Linked DNA regions of Homo sapiens: all the other regions are linked to region 3. Evidence: promoter capture Hi-C in 16 types of primary human blood cells and fetal thymus (Javierre and others, 2016). All regions are on one chromosome and are shown on one strand. Each heading gives the region's core, a stretch centred on a gene start or on the middle of the fragment in contact. The rest is flanking DNA. Distances are from core to core; before and after follow the strand shown.

Evidence for each region. The method cuts DNA at HindIII sites, captures the fragments that hold promoters and counts their contacts. A CHiCAGO score of 5 or more calls a contact.
Region 1: a contact is called between a fragment that was not itself captured here and the fragment with the promoter of MYO16-AS2 in region 3, in 3 of 17 cell types (M2 macrophages, M1 macrophages and M0 macrophages). The highest score is 8.6, in M2 macrophages.
Region 2: a contact is called between a fragment that was not itself captured here and the fragment with the promoter of MYO16-AS2 in region 3, in 4 of 17 cell types (M1 macrophages, M0 macrophages, M2 macrophages and 1 more). The highest score is 6.5, in M1 macrophages.

The regions. Positions count from the first base shown.
Region 1 is chr13:109,800,413-109,803,364 of GRCh38, reverse strand. All of the region lies in intron 1 of LOC105370360 (a long non-coding RNA gene), which reads right to left. Among named protein-coding and RNA genes, the nearest start is that of IRS2, 15 kb to the right of the region's middle. RefSeq lists an enhancer at 49-343. The HindIII fragment of the contact is 3,587 bases long and covers 1-2,952 here.
Region 2 is chr13:109,839,562-109,842,261 of GRCh38, reverse strand. No RefSeq gene overlaps it. Among named protein-coding and RNA genes, the nearest start is that of IRS2, 54 kb to the right of the region's middle. RefSeq lists an enhancer at 1,013-2,212. The HindIII fragment of the contact is 2,734 bases long and covers 24-2,700 here.
Region 3 is chr13:109,100,430-109,103,293 of GRCh38, reverse strand. It overlaps MYO16-AS2 (MYO16 antisense RNA 2), which reads left to right and starts at 1,336. Exons shown (of 3, transcript NR_046538.1): 1 at 1,336-1,751; 2 at 1,937-2,096; 3 at 2,485-2,739. It overlaps MYO16 (myosin XVI), which reads right to left. Exons shown (of 35, transcript NM_001198950.3): 28 at 2,407-2,509. RefSeq lists an enhancer at 1,645-2,844. The HindIII fragment of the contact is 392 bases long and covers 1,143-1,534 here.

The DNA.
Region 1 (2,952 bases), core at 112-2,611, 700 kb before region 3:
TGCAAGGAACGACGGCTCTGGGGGAACCTGGTAATTTCCCTACACCTTGTGCTGCGGTTTCAGTAGCCCCAAAAGGCAGAAGACAACATGGAGGCTCTTGGAAGGGAAGAGTCTCCCAGGACCTTCTCATGCAGCCAGAAACTCCAAGAGCCATGCTGAGTGAAAGGACAAACACACAAAGTCTCTGCCCTTCAAAGGGAGAGAAGGTGACTTCAATATCTAGGCACAAAGGTTGGAAGTCAGCAAACAAACCAACAGATGATGACTCAGCCATACAGCTCCACAGCCAGATGCTGGAACTATCAGACGCTGAGCCCTTCTCTCAAGGTCCTTTTTAAGGGGAACGCAAAGTTAAAGAACGACCAAGTTAAATCTATTCCAGAAATGTAAATTTTGTTTAACATTGAAAAATCAATTAATATAGTTAGCCCTACTTATAAATCAAACTAGAAAGGCGTAAGATCACCTCAGTAGGCACTAAAAAATATTTGATTAATTTTTATATCCATTCAGCTTAAATTCATTGGCATAATGGGCTAGAGGAGAACTTCTTTAAACTGAAAAAAATTGAACCTACCAAAATCTTAGCACAAACATGGTACCACATGGTAGAATCTGGAACATTCCCTTTCAAAAAGGATTAAAACAAGGTTGCTTTTACAGCATACATTGGTGGCTCTAGCCAGTTCAATAAGATGAGAAAATCTGTAAGCGACACATGAAATGGTATTATTTGTGTATTTATAAAATATTTCCCTCTAAACATCTTTAAAGCATTAAAATTAATATGAGGGTTTAACAAAATGATCAGATATAAGATAAATTAAAAATTGATTTTATTTCTCTACCCAAGCAACAAAGAGAAAATGTAGTTTTTAAAAATGGATACTGGCCGGGCGCGGTGGCTCACACCTGTAATCCCAGCACTTTGGGAGGCCGAGGCGGGCGGATCACGAGGTCAGGAGATCGAGAACATCCTGGCTAACGCGGTGAAACCCCGTCTCTACTACTAAAAATACAAAAATTAGCCGGGCGTGGTGGCAGGTGCCTGCAGTCCCAGCTACTCGGGAGGCTGAGGCAGGAGAATGGCGTGAACCCGGGAGGCGGAGCTTGCAGTGAGCCAAGATCGTGCCACTGCACTCCAGCCTGGGCGACAGAGCGAGACTCCGTTTCTAAAAAAAAAAAAAAAAAAAAGGATACTTTTTACAAGAGTAACAAAATATATAAGGTGCTAGGAATAAATCTAACAAAATATTTTAAAGATCTCTATGGGGAAAATTATAAAACGTTATAAAAAGACATTTTACAATTCCCTAAAGAAATAGGGAAACGTGCCACATTCCTGGCTAGGAGAACTCAGTACCTTAAAGATGTCCAATCTTTCTAATTTTATCTCAGTCCTAACAAGGTTTATTAAACTTGTCAAGCTGATGCTAAATCATAAGGAAAAGAGTTACAAATATCCAAGACATTCCTGAAGGAAAGTGAAGAAGTAGGTGAAGGAAATGGTCTACCAGAAAGTGAGATTTGTTAATAAAATATAGTAATTAAGACAGTGTGGTAATAGCATAAGAAGAAGCAAAAAGAACATCGGGGAAAAGAACAGAGGGCACAGAGGCTGACTCATGCAAACCTAGAGACTTGCCGTATCTGAGAAGCACTATTCAGACCAGTGGGAAAAAGTCAAATATTTGAAACACGCCTCGGAAACAATTTAAAAAAAAACTGAAATTGAGCCACTATCAGACACCATGCACAAACATATAATGCAGGTGAATTAAAGCTAAAAAAAGAGAGAGAGAGAAAGGAAATACAGGAGTAAGTACTTGAAAATTTGGCGATAGAGAAAAAAATTAAAACAAAATGAAAAAGGCACAAAACTCAAAAGGTAAACTTGATAAATTTTACTCAGTTAAAATTTAAAATTGATGTTCATTCAAAAGAAAACATAAAGAAAATAAAAAGCAAATAATAAATTTGACAAATCGATTTTTATAAAAGATTAACACATGGCCTCTATAAACAATGACTACAATCCAATGGGAAAAATTGTAAAAGACAATGACACCTTATTGGTGGAATTTTCAATTTGTACACTTACTTTCGAAAATGATTTTTATTACACATTAAAATTAAAGGTGGACAGAATTAACACTGGCAATTCTATTCTTCTGTCTAAAACAGTGTGCCTAAGAATATATATGTATGCATAAATAATTGTTAAAAGGCACTTTAATTGTTAAAAGGTGTGTAATTGTGAAACATACTTTTTAAAAAAACAAGTCATGTTCAAATAGAAATTTTAAAAACAACTACAAATAACCTAAATTTCTATTGGCAGAAGTGAAAAACAGTTATATATTTATTACAACTGAAAAAGATGAACTACGACTTCAGAAATCGTAATACATTTCTCTCAAAAACATAACGATGAACAGGGACAGAGAGAAGACTTATGGCCGCCAGGGGTGAAGGGAGGGGAACTCAAAAGTGACTGCTGTGGGCACAAAGTTTCTTGGGGTTTCTTTTTGGGGTGATGAAGATATTCCAGACTTAGAGTGTGATGACAATTTCACAGCCTTGTGATTATACTAAAAAATATTAAGTTGTACATTTTTATGGTATCTAAGTTACATCTCAATAATAAAACCATACTGTTGAGCAAGTTGCAGAAGAATATTAATAGGATGATAATATTTGTATAATGCTTAAATTTAAGTACAATGCAAAATGTTTACATACATATCCAGTAAAATCATGAAGACAGCCAAAGGACAATAATCACAAAATTTCAGATTGTGATAAGGCTAGTCAGTGGACTTCAAAATAAATATTGGTAATGTCCTACTTTTTAGGCTTGACTATGCCAATTTTAAAGTATTATTATTTATAACTTACATATATGTTAAATATCTTTTTGTATGTGTGTACTATGTTGCACAATATAAAAAT
Region 2 (2,700 bases), core at 141-2,640, 740 kb before region 3:
AATCCTCTCTTTTGCAATAAGCTTATAGATGATCCTGACCATCCTCCAGATACTGCCCACATTCTTCCACATTCCTAACTTACCCAGGCAAAGAACACAGGTGTGGAGACACTTGTGTAGTGCATGATAGTTTCCAAACACCCAAAAGTGACTTTAGATAAGTTACTACCATCAACGTTGCCAGCAAGTCCACGAAGAATTCCCAGAGTAGGTTCCCGATTGTCTACCAAGGATTGTGAGTGATGTCCACTCAATCAAGCACCATTATTTTGCCTTGATTTACCTATTGGGCATTACCTAGTGCCTTTTGATTTTCTAGTTTCCAGTTTTGTTTTATTATATTTCATTTTATTTTTTGAGACAGAGTCTTGCGCTGTCGCCCAGGCTGCAGTGAAATGATACGATCTCGGCTCACTGCAACTTCCACCTTCCGGGTTCAAGCGATTCTCCTGCCTCAGTATCCCAAGTAGCTGGGATTACAGGTGCCTGCCACCAAGCCCAGCTAATTTTTTGTATTTTTAGCAGAGATGGAGTTTCACCATGTGGGCCAGGCTGGTCTCAAACTCCTGACCTCAGGCGATCCGCCCACCTCCCAAAGTGCTGGGATTACAGGTGTGAGCCACTGTGCCTGGCTGCCAGTTTTCTTAAGAGAAGACCAGTGTGGTATATCTCTGGATACCCAGTGAATGGCTTTGCCATGTGACTGTAGCAGGAAAGAGCTGTGGAACCAACCCTGGTCATCAGCATTTTGGGCGGGGGGGTGGTTGCGGTGGACAACATCTTCAAAGGAAAGGGTCTAAAGAGCTGAGCTAAATGGCTTCTCCTAGTCAAAACAAAACGCAACTCTAATATTAAAATATTTCAGTGTAAGTTTTATGATGCCAAACTTTTAAGTTAGTTTTATAATTATGAAGAAAGAAAGTTCTATTATGGCCTTGTGTGTGTGTGTGTGTGTGTGTGTGTGTTCACTGATCTCGAAATCACTCATGTAATATAGTATTTTGGCTATAAACCCATGGGCTCCCGATGCTGAAGGTATTTTGTTCTGATAACATTCAGAACAAAATCCCACCGCATAAAGAGAAAGAGGTCCTGGGTGGCCGGAGTGAGCAGGCTCTGGGGTTTGTGTCTCACCCTCCTAAGAACTCCACAGCCACAGCCAACCCCAGCCAGCTGCACTTCTCAGTTACCTCTGTAAAGTGGCTGTAGAATCAATGTCACCAGCCAAGGTAGGCAGGGACTTCCTCAGAACAGACAGTGAGGTAGAATAAAAGAATATGCAATTGTTCCAAGTGAATCTTAGACACATATCAGAGAGAAAGATTTAGACCAGATTTGCAAATGATGGGTATGCAACCAACATTGGCCTGGGACTTCAGCTGACTCCTGTTCTTCAACCTTTATGAGTCCAAAATGATGACTTCACACATTTTTGAGAAGGAAGTGGGGATCAGGGTTGGCTAAGCCACAGGGAATGTGGCCTGCTAATCCTGAAGACAAGGGCTGTGGTTTACACTTCCTCTCTATCCTTTCCTGCCACTCAGAAGTGGCCTGGGCATGCACGCCGCATGTGCCATCACTTAATGCTGGTTTGGTTTGACTTTCCAGAAACCAGCCATTCTTCTGCTTGCCCAGATGCTGAACTTCTCATTCTTCAAGAGCTGGTTCAGATAATGCTTCTGTGAAAATGTCCCTACCCCACGTACACAGTCTGAGGCCATTTGCTCTGTGCTCCCCAAAACCACATACAGAATGGCTGAGTCACTCAATGCTATGATACAAGTCTTTGTCACCTGCCTGTCCCACTACCCTTGAGTCACTGACAGCACAGTTCCAGTCTCTTGCGTCTCTGTGTCAGCACTGGTGAGGTGCCTGCCACATTCCATGTGTTCCATAAATGTTCTTTTTCAGAAGGAATTTGAGATGAACAAGGGCTTGGGGATCATTCAGCAGGATACAGACGCTGACAGCCGGCACGCAGCGGCCACACCGGCACAGTTAATCTCTTGACTCTGACACCACAGGAAGCAGACCCCATACATAATGCTGGCTTTATTTTCTCCACGTTCAGGCTAATCAGTCCTAAACACTCTTCTTCTTGTCTCTTAAATGCCTCTTTTCCTCCACAATTTTATTTTTAAAAATGCTTCTTGTGCCTTCGTTCTATTCATATCAGTTCTCTTAATTATAAAAATAGGCTGACTTTTAAAGATTAACTTATATATTAGCCTATTAAACTATCTAAGTTATGTGGCAGATATTATTCAAAACTTACTAGTAATAGATATTTTGCCTGCCAAACCCTTCAAAATGTCATATTACACCAAAGGCTGTTGCTTAGGTTAATTTAGTCACACTAGAATTAATCCAATTAGTGCACTAATTTTTATTTTGATCTATCATGATTTCCATGAAGTGTATTCTCTGTTAGAATATGCCCTGCCAAGAATGGATATGTCATTCCATAGCCAGCAAGGAAGGGTATCGAGGAAGAATGTTTAATGGCGGGAGAAAAGACCGGCCCTCATTGTTTATTAAACAGGAAAGTGAGTTCGAATCTGTTATATTATGACCCTGAATGTGAAAAAAAAAAAAAGACAGCTTATCTTTGGTTGGGAGGCCTGGGAATGATTTTGATGATTTTGATTTTTCTTCTTTATGCTTCTAGGGATTGGGGGGATTTCTTGGATGGACAGAAAT
Region 3 (2,864 bases), core at 87-2,586:
CCTGTATTAATTAAAAACAGAATTGACTAGGAGGAATTCTTTCTGTAATTAGCAACACATATCTAAAAAATGCTTTGCTTTTGAAACTGAGGAGTCTAACTTTCCAGGTTAGGAATGAGTGTTTTTTGTTTTATTTATTTATTTTTTAACAAAATCTTTTTTTCCTTTGTCAGACCAATATAAAAGTGAAGTATGAATATGCTTCATTTCTGTGAAGTTGATTATTTGTCTGGTAGTATAAAGTATATCATAGGTTACATCGTGAAGAAGCTGAAGAAATACTGTCTTTTCTGACTAGACAACAGGGAACTCATAAGCAAATATACTCAGTGAATGAGCACATTTATTTCTCTTTCCTTTTAATTTTTTTGTCTTGTGTTTTCAGCTTCTTTTAGGCAGGTGAAAAGTGTGGAGAAAATAGATTAGTGCCATGAAATGGGATCCCTTTCCCATTTAAAATAAATTTTAATGCTCTTGTTGAAAGTCCCAATGTATGTTTCAATTTAATGCTATCCTCAGCTGCAATCCTAGCAAAAGCACCAATATAGAAGAAATGATGGCTGGCAGGGCTTACCAATTTGTCTTCTGGTCTCCTCTCATATTTGACCTGTACTTTACAGTGGTCTATCAGAGGGACCACTGCTCAGATATTGTGGTTACTGCCAATCACTCTCTTAGTGAAATAATTATTACAGATTCCCTTGCTTTCTTCTACAAATAAAAATTCTCCCTCTCTCTCTCCCTCATACACATACATCTATCTCACAGATATATATATATATATACACACACACACACATATACATATATACACATACATATACATATATGTATATCATTATCTGTAAGTAGTCTTTAAAAGCAAAATAATACAATAAGAATATCTTAGTGTTACATCATCCGTGGACTACTACTATATAATTACTTATTCAAAATCTCAGTAATGATTCCATTGAACTGACTTCAGTTACCTATAGACAGAATAAATGCTGATATATGTGAATCCCACCCCTATGTCACTGACTCTGGAGGGGTTGGCAGACATCACTTTTGGTTAGTAATTCCTCCTTCTTCCTCCTTCCCTTTTTATCCAATCTTTTGGCACTGATGTGCATCACTGACAACTTCAGACTGAGTAAGCTTCCTCCTTCAGATTGTTATTTAAAGTTCAAATTTCATTATTAGTTAAAAAAAAAAGAAAAGGAAAAAAGATAACAAAGAAAAAGATTGGGTGGCACAGACAATTAAATCATTACTCATCAATGCCAAAATTCTAGGTTCTTTGTTCTTTGTCATAGACAGATGAGTGTGCGAGTGTCAATCCAGTCTTCCCTCCCTGTTTTACTTAGACTGGGCCACTTTTGGACCTATTCAGCAATTCTGAATCATCAGCTCATGTCATTTCTAAAGCCAAGTCCCCATCCTTTGACTCATCAATTATCATATATTTTTACTCATAGATATTCTCCCTATCACTTTTTAAAGATGCAATTTATGTCTACTTTCCAGTAATCGTCATATTTTTATCAAAGCTTTTAGCTACCATTTGTTTTTGCCACCTATGCACTTTTGGTGGTTTTACAGCAAGAAACTTCCAAATAATTTCTGGTGTCATGGACTGCGTGGTTTCCCATTGTTGCTCTAATCTGCCCTTCTCACTTCAAACCTCTACTTCCTAAAATGAGTCAAGGATGGACTCTGATGTTGTTGAAGGTATTTACAAAATCTGGAACCATCTTCTCCTGTTTCTGGTAAACATTTGCCTGTAATTTTGTCTCAGGTTATTTTCTTTTTCTGCAAGTCTAGCTGTAGCTTTCATTGGCCCCTAGGGTCTACCATTCAAATGGATCACAGACTATAATAAAGTGTTTCCAATTATGAAGCTTTTGCCAACAAATGGGCTTCAAAGGATGGTGACATTTTCACTGTATGGCAGGTGAGAAGCAGGGCAAAGAGAAACAGAAAAAAAGGGGAGCTGACTGAGACGTGAACGAGCTGGGGAAGTCCAGGTTGAACATGCACTTATGAGAGACCAACTCTGCACAAAGAAATCAACCTTAGTTCTTCAATTTTGGCTCCTCTGACTCCTGCTATGGGTAAATATGACAAAATGCTTTACTGACAAGGTATGAATCTGACACACGGGCAAACAGAATGGGGCTCATAAGCTTCTGTCATGTTGTAAAGGGAGCCTGTTAGATTTCCTCTCATGTTGGCTGCAAGATGTTAAAATCGGTAAGTCATAAAGAATGACAAATTTCCAGGGAATACACTTAATGTCACGCCTTGCCAAACACATCAAAGGAATTTGTTTTTGCCAGGAAGATTCTGGTGGCTCCCTGCAATGACTCAGCTCATTTATTTAAAATCCTAAAATGTTATTTTCATAGCTTGTAGGTCACCAACCTGCCAGCCTTGTAATTTACACTGCTGGAGAACAAGTCGACATCGCTCGGCAGCTGACTGTTCCTTCTTCTCACGCAGGAATGTATCAGCCAGTGGCTTATACCTGTGAAAAGCAGCAGAGACAGAAAGCAATGACTGCATTTGCCAAGCACATGATCACATTCAACAGGGCTGTCTTTGTTACATCGTTTCCCAAAAGTTTCCCCGTCTTTCTTTATCCCAGGAACAGCCAAATACCTGTCCATTGTGCATTTACTAGGGAACTGGAAAGAATCCTTATCTTTTATAAGGGAAATGGTTTTTACAACGCGTCAAATATATTTTTCAGTCCTCTAATATATGTTTAGCACTGTCATGAAGCACTTCAAACCATTTAACCAAAGGAAATTTGAAAGGAATGAAAATTAATCCAGTAGCCATTTTTAAACATTTGGCATGCTCTTTAAAAACATACCTCT